Linked DNA regions of Homo sapiens: regions 2, 3 and 4 are each linked to region 1. The links are contacts of gene promoters, found by promoter capture Hi-C in blood cells and fetal thymus (Javierre and others, 2016). All regions are on one chromosome and are shown on one strand. The core of a region is centred on a gene start or on the middle of the fragment in contact, and the rest is flanking DNA. Distances in the headings are between cores, read along the strand shown.

What was found. The method cuts DNA at HindIII sites, captures the fragments that hold promoters and counts their contacts. A CHiCAGO score of 5 or more calls a contact.
Region 2: a contact is called between a fragment that was not itself captured here and the fragment with the promoter of EXOC5 in region 1, in 1 of 17 cell types (fetal thymus). The highest score is 7.1, in fetal thymus.
Region 3: a fragment that was not itself captured here is called in contact with the fragment with the promoter of EXOC5 in region 1 in 3 of 17 cell types (fetal thymus, total CD4 T cells and naive B cells); the score reaches 9.6 in fetal thymus.
Region 4: a fragment that was not itself captured here is called in contact with the fragment with the promoter of EXOC5 in region 1 in 7 of 17 cell types (fetal thymus, total B cells, monocytes and 4 more); the score reaches 12.8 in fetal thymus.

Annotation. Positions count from the first base shown.
Region 1 is chr14:57,267,363-57,270,870 of GRCh38, forward strand. EXOC5 (exocyst complex component 5) reads right to left here and starts at 1,543. Exons shown (of 18, transcript NM_006544.4): 1 at 1,260-1,543. The coding sequence starts at 1,286. It overlaps AP5M1 (adaptor related protein complex 5 subunit mu 1), which reads left to right and starts at 1,609. Exons shown (of 8, transcript NM_018229.4): 1 at 1,609-2,026. The coding sequence starts at 1,953. RefSeq lists a silencer at 974-1,033 and enhancers at 1,343-1,926, 1,574-1,773. The HindIII fragment of the contact is 4,317 bases long and covers 1-3,041 here.
Region 2 is chr14:55,066,426-55,069,933 of GRCh38, forward strand. MAPK1IP1L (mitogen-activated protein kinase 1 interacting protein 1 like) reads left to right here. Exons shown (of 4, transcript NM_144578.4): 4 at 1-3,508. Among named protein-coding and RNA genes, the nearest start is that of MAPK1IP1L, 17 kb to the left of the region's middle. The HindIII fragment of the contact is 854 bases long and covers 1,492-2,345 here.
Region 3 is chr14:55,180,578-55,184,085 of GRCh38, forward strand. It overlaps DLGAP5 (DLG associated protein 5), which reads right to left. Exons shown (of 19, transcript NM_014750.5): 3 at 2,983-3,176; 4 at 1,793-1,855; 5 at 636-720; 6 at 79-201. Among named protein-coding and RNA genes, the nearest start is that of DLGAP5, 9.3 kb to the right of the region's middle. The HindIII fragment of the contact is 1,505 bases long and covers 902-2,406 here.
Region 4 is chr14:55,266,989-55,270,496 of GRCh38, forward strand. All of the region lies in intron 1 of FBXO34-AS1 (FBXO34 antisense RNA 1), which reads right to left. Among named protein-coding and RNA genes, the nearest start is that of FBXO34, 2.7 kb to the right of the region's middle. The HindIII fragment of the contact is 217 bases long and covers 1,546-1,762 here.

The DNA.
Region 1 (3,508 bases), core at 293-2,792:
AAGCATTATCTATCCAAAAGCTGACTGATATGCAAAATATAGTAACAATAACAAATGTAAATTTCCATTTGTTATTAAAACTGTGGCATTCAAATTGTAAGCCACAAAAACTGCTGAATCTTACGCAGAAAAAGGATACCATTTTCACTTATGGAGAAGTTCCCTATTGTGGATTACAGTCTTCTCAATTATTACACTTTTGTTACTCAATGTGAAACACAAGCACACACACAAAAAAGGGGTCTTTCTTTCCTTTTTCTTATCCGTTTTCATTTCTTTCACACAAGGAGATGCTTTATACGTGTCATTGTTTTGTAGCCTAATTAGAGTTTTCCTATTCTATTATCTCAAACTTTTATCACAGCTTCTTACAACGGACTTCACGAAATTAAATTTTAAGGTTTAGATACTGTAAACGCTCGAGGAAAGACATTAGTATTCTCACTATTACATATTAAGGATTCTCTAGCTTGCAGTTAGGTGATTTTATAATACATGTAAATGCATATAATACACTTAAGGTGCATTATATACATGAAACGAAGTGTTCGTTTTATTTTATAAACTTTTTTTATTTTATAATACACGTAAATGCCTCGAGTGTATTATTATGTATTACATGAAATAAAGTGTTCACTTGAATTTTGCCTCCCTTCAGTCTATCTCTCTTCAGTCGAAAGAGATAAGTAGGCCTTTATTGTCCAAAAAAAAAAAAATTGTCCCAGCCTTTTCAAATGTCAGGTTAAACTGGCAGTCCTATGAATGCCACCTGCAACCTTACTAATGGAATAATTACTCAAAACGAGAAGCCCCCAAGAGTCCCGATCTCAAGTGGCTTCCTCCTATTATTCCCGCGAGGACCCCAGCGACAAGACTCGCCCAACCTGAGGCTCCTGGCTCTCTTTCCTCGTCCTGAGTCAGCCCTTCCCACTACTCATCCGGAGTAGACATCTTCCAACACCCGAACCTTCCAGACTTTCCCTCTTGCCCCCACAAACAAAAGCAACCCTCCTCCCTTGGGACACCCGGCTTCCCCTCTCTGCCGACCGGCCGCCCAGCCCACCTCGGCCCCAAGCACCCCTCCCCCATTTCACGCTCCGCCCGCGCTGACACGGAGCTGCCACCCCAACCCTTCTGTTTCGCACCTCTCTCCCGAGGGCTCCTCCTGGGCAGCCAGCAAACGCCCGCTCCTCGGCCCGCCCACCCAGCTGCCTGCAAACCCCGGGCCTGCCACTCCCTGTAGAGCCGCCGGGGCCCACCTCGAAGAGCTCGGCCGTGGTAGCCATCCCGGCCGGCTGAGAGGCTCGCCCCCCACTGGATGCCGTCTCCGCTTCACATGCTGCGCCTCAGAGGCGCGGCGCACAGGTCTCCGCTCGGCTCGCCAGCTCCGGCTCCGGGCCGCTGCGGGCTCCCCAGCTCCCCACAGATCCCAGGAGGGGCGGGAGAGCGGCCATGAAGCGAAGCCGCAAACGCTTGTCAGCTGCCTCCCGGCGCCGCCCGCGCTGCTCCCATTGTCACCGCCTCATACGCCGGAAGTGGAACTGCGCGCGCCAGGGAGGTTGTCGGGAGGGGCCGGCGAATAAAACGAGCGGCGAAAGAACCGAAAAAAGGCTCGACGCTACCGTGTATGAGGAACTTTGATCCTTGCGGGCCACCATTCCGGAAGTAGAATTTAGAGGAAGAAAATACCGGAGTTGCAGGGTATAGGTAAATTTCTCAAGGTTATAGGTTGGGGTTCTTAGAACTTTTTGTGGTGTGTGTTGGCCTAGAGCGACTCAGAAGCGTTAGTGACTTCACCTAAAAAAGCTAACCTCTCTGCTGAGCGCGACCGGTATGCGGCGCAGGATGAGCCTCAGGGCTTCTGTTAAGAGTCTGTCTGAGAAAGCCGGTCTGCGCTGTTCCTCGGTGGCGACCTTAATTATGAGATGAGCTAATGCTTTACTGACTTAACCATGGCGCAGCGGGCAGTGTGGCTCATAAGCCACGAACCGGGAACTCCACTTTGTGGCACCGTGAGATTCTCCAGGTAAATGCAAATCTGAATCCTCAGGGATGATGGATCAGAAGATCGATGAAGTAGCATAGTTTTGTGGTGCTTCGTGGCCCAGGTTTGCCACGAATAGCTGCGTGACCTTGGGCTAGCCAGTTAACAGACCTCTGTTTCGTCTGTTAAATGGAGATTTTAATAGTCCTACCTTACAGTGTTGTGAGAATTGAGTTGATGACTGGTACATATTATTTACGGTATATGTTTTCTATTAGTATTGTGTTTTAAAATGACCTCCGTCTGCTTAGAATTAAAATGGAGATGACTAAGGGAACGGTAGAAAATTTACTGAGCACTAAACATTTTCAGATTTTTCAACATGCATTGACAAAATCGTTCCAGAACATTTTAACTTATTCTACTGAAAAATCCATGCTAAGTTATATCAGACTTTTATTTTTTTGTTTTTATTTTTTTGAGACGGAGTCTCGCTCTGTTCCCCAGGCTAGAGTGCAGTGGTGCGATCTCCGCTCACTGCAAGCTCCGCCTCCCGGGTTCATGCCGTTCTCCTGCCTCAGCCTCCCGAGTAGCTGGGACTACAGGCACCCGCCACCACGCCCGGCTAATTTTTTGTATTTTTGGTAGAGAGGGGGTTTCACCGTGTTAGCCAGGATAGTCTTGATCTCCTGACCTCGTGATCCGCCCGCCTTGGCTCTCAAAGTGCTGGGATTACAGGCAGGAGCCACCGCGCCCCGCCCAGGCTTTTATTTTTATCTTGTTAATATGTGTCAATGGTAGAAATCATCAGTTTACAGTTCCTAATTGTTGAAGAAAATAGAAACACAAAAAAATGTATTCACTATTTCATATATTGTGTTAAGTTGATCTGGTCCCACTATTAGAATTTGCCCTGTGTAATCAAAATAGCTCTGTTAAGGGAATTGTACAGTAACTCATTGTAAAATGTTGGTGGCAATCGAGTGGGTCTATTTCACCTTTTATTCTCTGGCCATTGATAGTTCTTTTTTGTCACAATTCGTTCTTCCCTGAAGAAAGCTTATAGTGAAGTAGTACCATAGTAGAATTGAGATTGAGGCAGAAAAAAAAGATTTTAATTTTAAATGAAAATTGGTTGGCAATGGGGATATGAAAAATTCCTTCTTTGCAACCTTAACAGTTTTTGTTCCTGAGGGCATCAGAGTTGGAGTTTACCATTTCCCCCCAGGATTTCTGGCTGACACTAACCCCAACATTTGTTGTTGGACCTCAAATACAGGAGATTAATAATATTCTTTAGTACGTGGTTTTACCAGGCGCATCAGTCCGTACAAAGTATCTCTCATTTTACTTATATTCCCTTTGGTTACCTATTTCTAACTGCCGTTCCCTTCCCACTGACAGATAACTCTTAACATCTTCGATGTTACTCTTTTTCATTGTATGCATTTTTCAAATTACATAATTAAGTGTGCTTTAGACTTCACTTCCTAATGTTACATTTGTCACATTTCTCAACACTAT
Region 2 (3,508 bases), core at 669-3,168, 2.2 Mb before region 1:
GGTGTTAGCTGTCTACAATACTGTTGAACTCTGTTGTCAAAGTAGCCCCCTTAGTCTACAAGGCAGGTAGCCTTGGCTTGAATTATCAATATCAAAATGTCAGTTAACCATGGAGGGATAAAGTAATGTGAAAAGTGAGATGGCTGCAAAGATAGCTCTCCTTACAGTTATTTTGGCTGTCCTACATTGGGATAAGCTGACAAATTAGCAGTATTTAGTTTAACACTGGAGCAAATATAATTTGAGTAGGAAGAAGAGATAGCAGGTTTGGGAATCTATAATTATGAAGTCCATTGATTTTGGGAGAAAATCTGTTGCTAAAGGATTTGAAGGGCCATGAACACAATTTGGGATTATTACTCCCTATAAGTATAATAATTTTGCTAGTGACCCATACTGTCCAGTGTGCCCTAAATCATACTGCTATTGTACTCCCTTTGTTTTCAAGGACTTTGCAACTGGTATTTGGGGGAGATTTTTTTTTTTTTTTGAGACGGAGTCTCGCTCTGTCGCCCATGCTGGAGTGCAGTGGTGCTATCTTGGTTCACTGCAAGCTCCATCTCCCAGGTTCACACCATTCTCCTGCCTCAGCCTCCCAAGCAGCTGGGACTACAGGTGCCCGCCACCATGCCCGGCTAATTTTTTTTTTTTTTTTTTTTTAGTAGAGATGGGGTTTCACTGTGTTAGCCAGGATGGTCTCGATCTCCTGACCTCGTGATCTGCCCGCCTTGGCTTCCCAAAGTGCTGGGATTACAGGCGTGAGCCACCACGTCCGGCCGATTTTTTTTTTTTTTTTTAATGTAAGAATGGAGATAAAAGGGATAATATAATTTGCTTTTATATTGTTATTTTTGTAAAGCATCTTTTCTTCAATTCTTGTTGGCATTCTGGGCCAAAATATTTCAGGTTGGTTCGGTGTGGAGTTAAGAAAAGCAGGCGTTTTAGTGGAGAAATGGGGAACAGCATCAAGAAAGGCTTTTTTCCTTTTTTCTTTTTTTTTTGGAGACAGAGTCTTGCCCTGTCACCCAGGCTGGAGTGCAATGGCGTGATCTTGGCTCGCTGCAACCTCTGCCTCCAGGTTCAAACGATTCTTCTGCCTCAGCCTCCCAAGTAGCTGGGATTACAGGTGCCCGCCACCACACCCATTTTTGTATTTTTAGTAGAGACGGGGGTTTCACCATGTTGGCCAGGGTGGTCTGAAACTCCTGACCTCGTGATCCGCCTGCCTCAGCCTCCCAAAGTGCTGAGATTACAGGCGTGAGCCACCATGCGTGACCTTTTTTTCTTTTTAAAAGGGAACAATGTTGCTTTCAAAACAAGACATGCTAGGCTGAAACTGATTTATGGAAAAGACTGCTTGTTAGCAAGTATATTTGGTCTTGAGGGGGATACAGATTATAGAATATGCTGACATTTGGGCTTCAGAGGAAGAATTTTCAAATCTAATGGAAATAGTTGAGGTGTTCAGGAATGCTGTTTCTTGGAGTTGGAAGCTTAGGTTTTGAAATGTTGAAACCAAAAAGACAAAAATTAAAACATAGACCTTAGGTCGTCATTCACACCCGGTTCTCAAGAATCAAGTGGAGCACTTCAAAGACCTTGGCTTGTCTGTCCCATCCTGCCACTTTCTCATCTTTTCATGCTTTTGAAGACACCATTTACAGCTCTGACTCAGCCCTATTTTGTGTAAAGTAATATATTGATTATTCAGAAATAGACAATACATTTTTTAATTACCCAAGGACTGACTGTTTTGTGCATTTTACTGTTGGTTGTCTTCAGTAGAGAATAGTAATAGGGCAGAGAAAAGTATATATTTTGCCTCAGTCAGTCCCACCACCACAATGGACTATTGGGATATTTTCTAAAAAACCAATCAATTTGCCCATGATTACCTCACAAATAATTAGTGCTACCTGGGGTACTCTCAAATATACAGCTTTTGAAACTGTAGATGAAAAAAGCTCTACTCAGAGTTTTTGTCAAGACTGTGCCTGGGTTGAATATCAGTCAATTGCCTACACTTCTAAACAATAAGTGCCAATGTCTCAATTTTCTCACCCTGAATGATAGAAGCTAGCTTTATCAAATGCCAAGGTTAGAAAGCCTGGAAATAAAACTTAAGCACAGACATTCAAGTTTTTGAAAAGCATAAGCCTAAATTCAGATAAATCACACTGATATATTGTACTATGCATAGAAAGTTGTAGGTGGCGTTCAGGGAAGACTTTGATTTTAATAAAGCAATATTTAGTATTGAAGACAAACACTTTTTATTTTCAGATTTCTGCCAAGTAAAACAGAAATTGCCAATAAAATAATCAGTATTTTGTAAATGGCAGGCAAGCTTCTGGCTGTCGAAAACATCTGAGTCATTTATTCAGTAGACAATATGTCCTTGATCCAGGTTCTTTGCCAGCTATAAGGGAATCCCTGTCCTTGAGAGGCTCATAGTCTATAAGTAACATTACAGAATTTGTTAGCATACCCATTCATTATTAGTTTTACCTAAACGTGTTAGGATCACTACTGGTGGAAATTGTAACCAGCCTTTGGGCATCTTAAAGGGTGACATGTGGCATGCCTTTTTTTTTTTTTAAGAATTTAATGTTTTTCAAGATTGTAGTGTTGATCAGCGCAACAATTCAAGTGTGCAAAGTAACAGGATAGTTTGCCTCTTCACTTTACCCCTGGATAAAGGCACTTTCACTGCCTGTCACTGATCAGCAGATACTGACTTGTTGCCATTAAGTGAACTTGACTTCTTATGTGTGCTCTATGAGTTTGTTGTAATTTTCTTCTTGAAATTGTGATTTTTCACTGACAGTAATGACAAATTTAATGTATGTAATTGTCTATGCATTTTAAGTTAAACTGCCTAAAATGTGATTTGAGACATATACATATGTTTGTATTATAAATTGTAAGCAATCAGTTTGAGATACTAGGTTTTATCACCTGCTGCTGTATTTGTAAACAAAGACAAATGTTGCTTTAAGAAGTAATTATAATTAGGAATAGGCTATGGATGTGATACTTGGTATTTTTTAAGATAAACTTGTTTGCTTTTGTGTATTATACCTGGAAACTTTTTTTAAAAAATGTATTTTCATGGTTTCACAGATTTTTCATGTTATTTTATTCTTTAGGCCCAATTCTGGGCTTCTCTGAGCAAGTCCAGAGCCTAATTAACTGTAAATTTGTTGTCAAAAAGGAAGAAAAAAGGGCCTGAGATACCTCTTTGCATGTGACCTGCATTCACTAAGGATATCTGGAAACCACCCTTCCTCCGCAAACCCTCTCAGCAACATGGTGTCCATTGTGGTGATTTTCTCTTCTTTTAAGGCTAGGCTACTCTTGGTAACCAGATTATCCGTATATATGATAATATGAAGTCAGGGAACTTTCTCTGTCTGTCCCTACTCCCCTCACTCCCCCACTTTCTGTTATGAAAGATAGTTCTACTTTTATCATTAACTGCTACGCATTTAGTGAGGGTCACATTATT
Region 3 (3,508 bases), core at 404-2,903, 2.1 Mb before region 1:
TTGATTTTTGAAACGGAACACAAAAACCTCAAGGACCAAACATTCTAGTTCAGTCACTGATCAAGGAATAGTTCTCACCATTAGCAGCTCTTGTGACTGGCTTTCTTGCTGTGGTAGATGAGACTGTTCTGGGAACCTGCTTTGCTGCTTGAGTAGCTGATCGAGTCATTCTCAACGACGTGGGCATTACAGGCTGCACAACTGTGGGAAAAAAAAATAACTACATCAAATGTCCCTTGTAGTTATGAAATTATTGCTGTGAAGCCAGGCATGGTAGTGCAATGCCTGTAGTCCCAGCTACTTGGGAGGCAGGAGGATTACTTCAGCCCAGGAGTTCGAAACCAGCCTAGGCAACATAGTGAGACCCCGTCTCTACAAAAAATATAAAAATCAGCTGGGCATGGTGGCAAGTCTGTAGTTGCAGCTACTCAGGAGGCTGAGGTGGGAGGATCACTTGAGCCCAGGAGGTGGAGGCTCCAGTGAGCTATGATTGTGCCACTGCACTCCAACCTGGGCAACAGAGCAAGACTCTGTCACAAACAAACGAACAAATTCCAGTTGACCTTCAAGACACTTAAAAAAAATTATGGCTGTGGTAGCCTCAGAGGATTTATAGTAATTGCTAATATTCCTACCTTTTTTCTCTTTGTCTGACACTTTCTTTTCAGAAGTTTGTCTTGGACCAGGTCGGATTGCTCGAACATCACTCTCGTTATCAATCTATTTAAGAGATTAGGTGCTATGTGATTTAATTGCATAATGAATCAGACCATCATATTTTTAATCTGTAAATTGATTCCTCATATGAAATCTGATCATCGTAAATGACCCAACAACAACAACAAAAAACTACCCCAAATAAAATGAGATAAAGAAAAGCTTTCCATTAAGCTTCCAAAAAAGCTTACATCCTTTTTCACAATCACAGAATTTGGAAAATGCTAATAACCCAAGCTATTAAAAACAGCTCACTATAACTTGCCTTCTGAAGGTCCTTAAACACTCCTAGACATACTTTCACTTCAAGACCTTTTAATTTTGCCTAGAAAATACTTCTCCTGGATAAAAAGCGCTTTCCCATGGTTCTCTTCTCCACTTCCATAATGACTTCACTCAAAAGGCTTTCATCTCAGGGAGGCCTTCCTTAACTGCCCAATCAAAATTCTACCCCATACCTATTTCTAGTACACCCCATCTCCCCTTTTTAAAATCTCTTCCATAATACTTATCATCTTCTGGCATATTATGTATTTTTTTAAATGCCTTACATGTAAGTTCCACAAAGAGAATTTAGTTTATTATATCCAAAAGCCTACAACACCAGGAACATCATAGCAATGCAAAATATATATGCATACGTGGAACTTAGCTTCCTCACCTGATAAAGAGGCATATTATTTCCCTTCTTGCCCACTTCACTTTGTTTTAGTAACCCTCCTGATATCTCTATTACAGTATTTTGAAGACCCGTAAGTTTATAACACCTACCCTGTGTGCTTTCCTCCCCATATGCATTTCATGCAGGTAACTTGGAATGCATAATAGGAGCCCACTAAACAAAACAAGAGTGTGACACAAAGACAGTTTGCCATGGATCTCATACGGAATGTTGGAGCAAATATTTTAAGTGAAATTGCTCTACATCACCATACTAAAAACAGTGACTTTGGTACCTGTTAACTCTAGTAAATTAATCATTATGTTTGAATCTGATACTAGATTTAAAATGAATTTACTTACTAAAAAAGTGCAATTTATCATTTTAGTAACAATTATCTACTATCAACTATACCTTAGTCTGCTCCATTTGGTCTTTGGCCTTTGACCTTGTAATCCGTACAGAAGATGGAATAGCCTTAGAACAGTCAAAAGAAGATGAACTTAAAATATGAACTGGTAAAGGTTTACTTCCATATCTTATTACAAAATAAAGTTCCCATTTTAAAGTTAAATTTTATCCTTAATCTCTTATAGCAAAAAGATACTTAAATTCCTTTTTCTGGTTCTAGCTTGATTTAAATTAAGTTAGTAACTTCAAAAATTACTCACATTTCTCAGTGAGAAAGAAATTTCAAACCGTATTTTCCAGGTATTGGAATCATCATTAATATGAGCTTCTATCCTCTCTTAGTTCTCCTGCCTCTCTGACCAGTCCTCAGCCTGGTACCTGGCTTCTGCCTACCTAAAAGTGCTCTCTAGAGCCCACTTTTTCATAATTTTATATATCCTTATTGGAATGGTCTCATTTAGTCCTACAGCTTAAACACTCATCCATATTCCCAATATTATATCCTAAATCGACATCTTAGCACCAATTTCCATCCTTCTTTCCAAATTTTTACTAATATCTAGGTGGCCCACACAAGTTTAAGATTTTTAAAAAGGTTATTAACATGCACCCACTTAAGCTTGTTCCTTATCTTCCTTATCTCTTTTAGCAGCAGAGCTTCTCTCTGCTTTTTCAATTTCCTTTACCCCTCACCATCTACTTGGCCACCAGTCCTGTCAAATGCCTTTATTTAGATGTCTTACACCTATTTTTTCCTTTTAAAACCCACTGCCCCTTTCCATCTATTCTATTACAATAGTCTCACAATTGGTCTCCCTATCTATAAATGCTTCCCTTTCCAGACTAAAATCTTTAGGGCTATGGTATTTTCCTGAATTATTAATTTGACAACGGCACTACCCTTATTTATAAACTTCTCCTGATTCTGCAAAACCTACAGGATAAACACCAAATCCTTTGCATAACATTGTTCAGCCTGATTCTACCAATTTTCCTAGTTTTATCCTATCTCAACTTACCTACAGCTATCTTAAGAGACCTGATTTTCATTCTTCTGAGCTACTATTATGTCATTCCCACCTTCTACCAACCAGTTAATAATGAGACTAAGGGAAAGGGGTTAGTCACTTAATGTCTTGAAGAAAATACCAAATAAAAGAAACTATTCCTTTATATTAAGACACTAAATTTACCTTTTTTGGCTCAGCTTTCACAGCATTCTGGTTTGATAAAAGAAAACAAGGCATATCAGGTCTATAACGACCCACTTTAAATATTCCTCGTTTAGCTTTCTCTCTCTGCTCTTTCAATTTTTGAAGTTGCTTTTCTTCTTTGTATTTTTGGAGCATCTGTTTTCGTTGATCACCTAGAATAGTTTTCATTGCCCCTAGGCAGAAAAAAAACCAAAACCACACAGTATATAAAACATTTCAGATGAAAAGTTATGCAAATGTATAAACAATTATTTTTGTGTCATTTCAACTGCTGCTAAAAAATGCTTTCAGGCCAGGCACGGTGGCTCACGCCTGTAATCCCAGCACTTTGGGAGGCTGAGGAGGGCGGATCATCTGAGGTCAGGAGTTTGAGACCAGCCTGGCCAACGTGGTGAAATCCCATCTCTACTAAAAATTCAAAAATTAGCTGGGTGTGGTGGCGGTCACCTGTAATCCCAGCTATTCGGGAGGTTGAGGTAGGAGAATTGCTTGAACCCAGGAGATG
Region 4 (3,508 bases), core at 404-2,903, 2.0 Mb before region 1:
GCCGGGATGGTCTCGATCTCCTGACCTTGTGATCCACCTGCCTCAGCCTCCCAAAGTGCTGGGATTACAGGCATAAGCCACTGCGTCCGGCCAGAATTTCTCCTTTTATATGCTATCAGAAGTGAAATATGGGCACAGTGACTTATACCTGTAATCCCAGCATTTTGGGAGACTGAGTTGGGAGGATCATGTAAGCCTGGGAGTTTGAGACCAGCCTGGGAAACATAGGGAGACCCCATCTCAACAACAATAAAAAATTAGCCAGCCACAGTGGCGAGCATCTGTGGTTCAAGCTACTTGTAAGGATGAGGTGGGAGGATCACTTGAACCTGGGAGGTCAAGGCTACAGTGAGCCGAGTTGGTGCCACTGCTGCCTAGCCTAAGTGACAGAGCAAAAACCCTGTCTCAAAAAAAAAAAAAAAAAAAGAGAGATACCTATGGAAATTGTGTGGCTCACTGTATTGACAGTGTAGAAACCACCTTCTGAATGTTCTGAGGGCAATACTGTGGGGATAGGAGGATCTGGGACCTTGATTTGTTTCCCATCCATTGTACTGGAAGGGCTGCCCTTGCTCTACATGTCTCTTACACCGCCCCACCATGAGAGTGCAGATCACTATAAGATAAGTTAATCTAAGGAACTTTTAAAAAAATTAAAATTATCTTCTAAACTGTCTGTATATATCAGGGTGTGCTTTTTTACTTCTGCTAAGAGTCTCCAAAGAGACTCTTGATTTTTAGCTCTTATCAGATTTTCACAGGGGCACAAGATCTAAAAAGAAGGATAAGAAGGATAAGAACTATGATTTCCTGGGTTTCAATACTTATTCAACTTTATGTCCCTCACCATCCACATCTTAATTATAAGATAGAATCATATCTGTTAGACAGTGTGCTGCCTTGGTGCTCTAGTTTTCCCTGAGTTGTTCTATTTATTGTGGATAATATTTATATTCTCATGGCTGAGTAGCTCCTGCCCATCCCCCCGTCATCACCAATGAGCTTCACACATGCATAAACCTGGGCATAAGCTCAGGGCTTGAAGCATGCTCCAACGGCCACATTCCAGGCATATTTTTTAAGTACATGCTTTACTTTTGCAAAGTTGAAACTTTTAAAAGCACTTCTGCTTCTCTTTTCTTATTTGGTCTTTATAATAACACAGTCAAGTAGGTAGGGAAAGGCATTATCACACCCAGCGGCCTAGGTTCTGCAGCAAAGTAGGTCTAGATGCAAAGTCTAATGGAGCCTGTCTCTTGGTTTCCTTTCTCCAGCAGCGGGGAAGTAAGTTTGATAAGGAGGGTTGGGGGGTGAGAGAGAGAAGATGAAATGGTGGGTGTCCTAGTCTGTTTTATGCTACTATAACAGAACACCTGAGACTGGGTCATGTATAAAGAACAGAGATCTATTTCTTACAGTTCTGGAGCCTGGGAAGCCCAAGGTCAAGGGGTTCATAACTCTTGAGGGGCTTCTTGCTACATCATCCCATGGTATAAGGTGGAAGAGCAAGAGAACACCTAACAGAGTGAGAGATAGAGAGGGCCAAGCTTGCTTTTATAGTAACTCCCTCTCTTGATAAGTAATCCACTCCCTTGATAATGGCATTAATCCATTCATGAGGACGGAGCCCTCATGACCTAATTGCTTCTTAAAGGTCCCGCTTCTTAACACTGTTGCATTGAGGATTAAGTTTCTAACACATAAACTTTGGGGGACACGTTCAAACCATAGCAGTGGGTGTTTTTATTTGGAGGTTGGAGTAAGCTTATTAAGGAATAAGCAGTAAGTTCTTAGTTTTTTTTTTTTTTTTTTCTGAGCAAAGAACAGAAATGAAACCAAGTCTATACAAGACAAATCCCTTGAACTGAGTTTTAATTAATATGTTTGCTGGCTTGAAACAACTAAGTTTTAATTACTAATGGAATAACCAAATATATATACTATATATATTTAGAACTTTTCTGCTGCTGTGCCACCTCAGTCTTGTTCTTCTTTCGGCTCTCACCAGTCCCATGGCCTCAATGTGCCACCCCATGCCCACCTGGGGAGCACCTTCCTGAAGACCTACCACAGGACCTGTGGGTTGATAAACTATACTGGCTCTACTGGCTTTGCTTCTAGGGGATCATTGCCATTATACAAATGGAGAAACAAAATCAAGGGAAGTTCTTGCCTAACATGGTTATGCTCTCTCCTAGTTCTTTTCTCCTAGACTGGGGCTATTTAAAGTGTGGTTCACTGGCCAATCTGAGACAAGAACTGAAATTGAGAATCAGATTTTAGAAACTTTACTAGCAATTTGACAGAATAATTTTATGTCTGTGGACTTTAATAATCAATAATTCATAGGCTAGGCATGGTGGCTCACTCCTGTAATTCCAGCTATTTGGGAGGCTGAGAAAGGAGGATTGCTTGAGGCCATGAGTTTGAGACCACCCTGGGCAACATAGTGAGACCCTGCCTCAAGAAAAAGATGAAAAAATATAATAATTAATAGTTCGGGCTTTTATTATGTCTTTTAAAATTAATTTCATTTTTATATCAATTTTTTGAGTCCTCTAATCAACAGGAATCAAGTTTTGTTTGTTTTTTTTTTTTTTTTAGATGGAGTCTCACTCTTGTCGCCCAGTTAGGAGTGCAGTGGTGTGGTCTCAGCTCACTGCAAACTCCACCTCCCAGGTTCAAGCGATTCTCCTGCTTCAGCCTCCCAAGTTGCTGGGACTACAGGCGTGCCCTGCCACACCGGGCTAATTTTTGTATTTTTAGTAGAGATAGGGTTTCACCATGTTGGCAAGGCTGGTCTTGATCTCCTGACCTCAAATGATCTGCATGCCTTGGCCTCCCAAAGTGCTTGGATTACAGGCGTGAGCCACCATGCCCAGAAGGAATCAAGAGGTTTTAAGAAGGACAGTGTTTGAGATGAATCTGAAAGGATAAACTGAAGTTTTACAATTTTGAGCTAACTATGACATAAAGAAGCTTCAAATGATCATGATATATTGAGCTAATATTGCTCACATATTAAATCAGACATACAGTTTGATGCCACGGTGTACCATATAACACCCTTCCTTAATTTTTTTTTTCCTTTTTGAGATGTGAGCCACCGTGCCTGGACTTCCCCTCTCCAATTTTTATTAAAAATATGTATATAGATAAAGGTCTAGATGGAGATACTGAGTGGTTATTTCTTGGTGATGAGATTATGGGAAATATTTTTATTTTGTTTTTACGTTTTAATATTTAAGATTTTACACATATATTTTACAACAGTAGTTTTATAATTGGACAAAATTATTTTTGTTAAGGACTGGCTAAAATCAAAGTTGCTGGTTTAAGTGTAACTTGGTACAACCTTTTAAAAATCATTTGGCAGTTTGTATTAGTAACTGTGAAAGTGTTGATAGTCTTTTTCACCTAGTAATTTCACTTTTGGGTATCTTTAAAAATCTACATTCATGAAGATGTTCTATGATTTCTTTATAATGGCAAAAAGTGAATGAAGGAA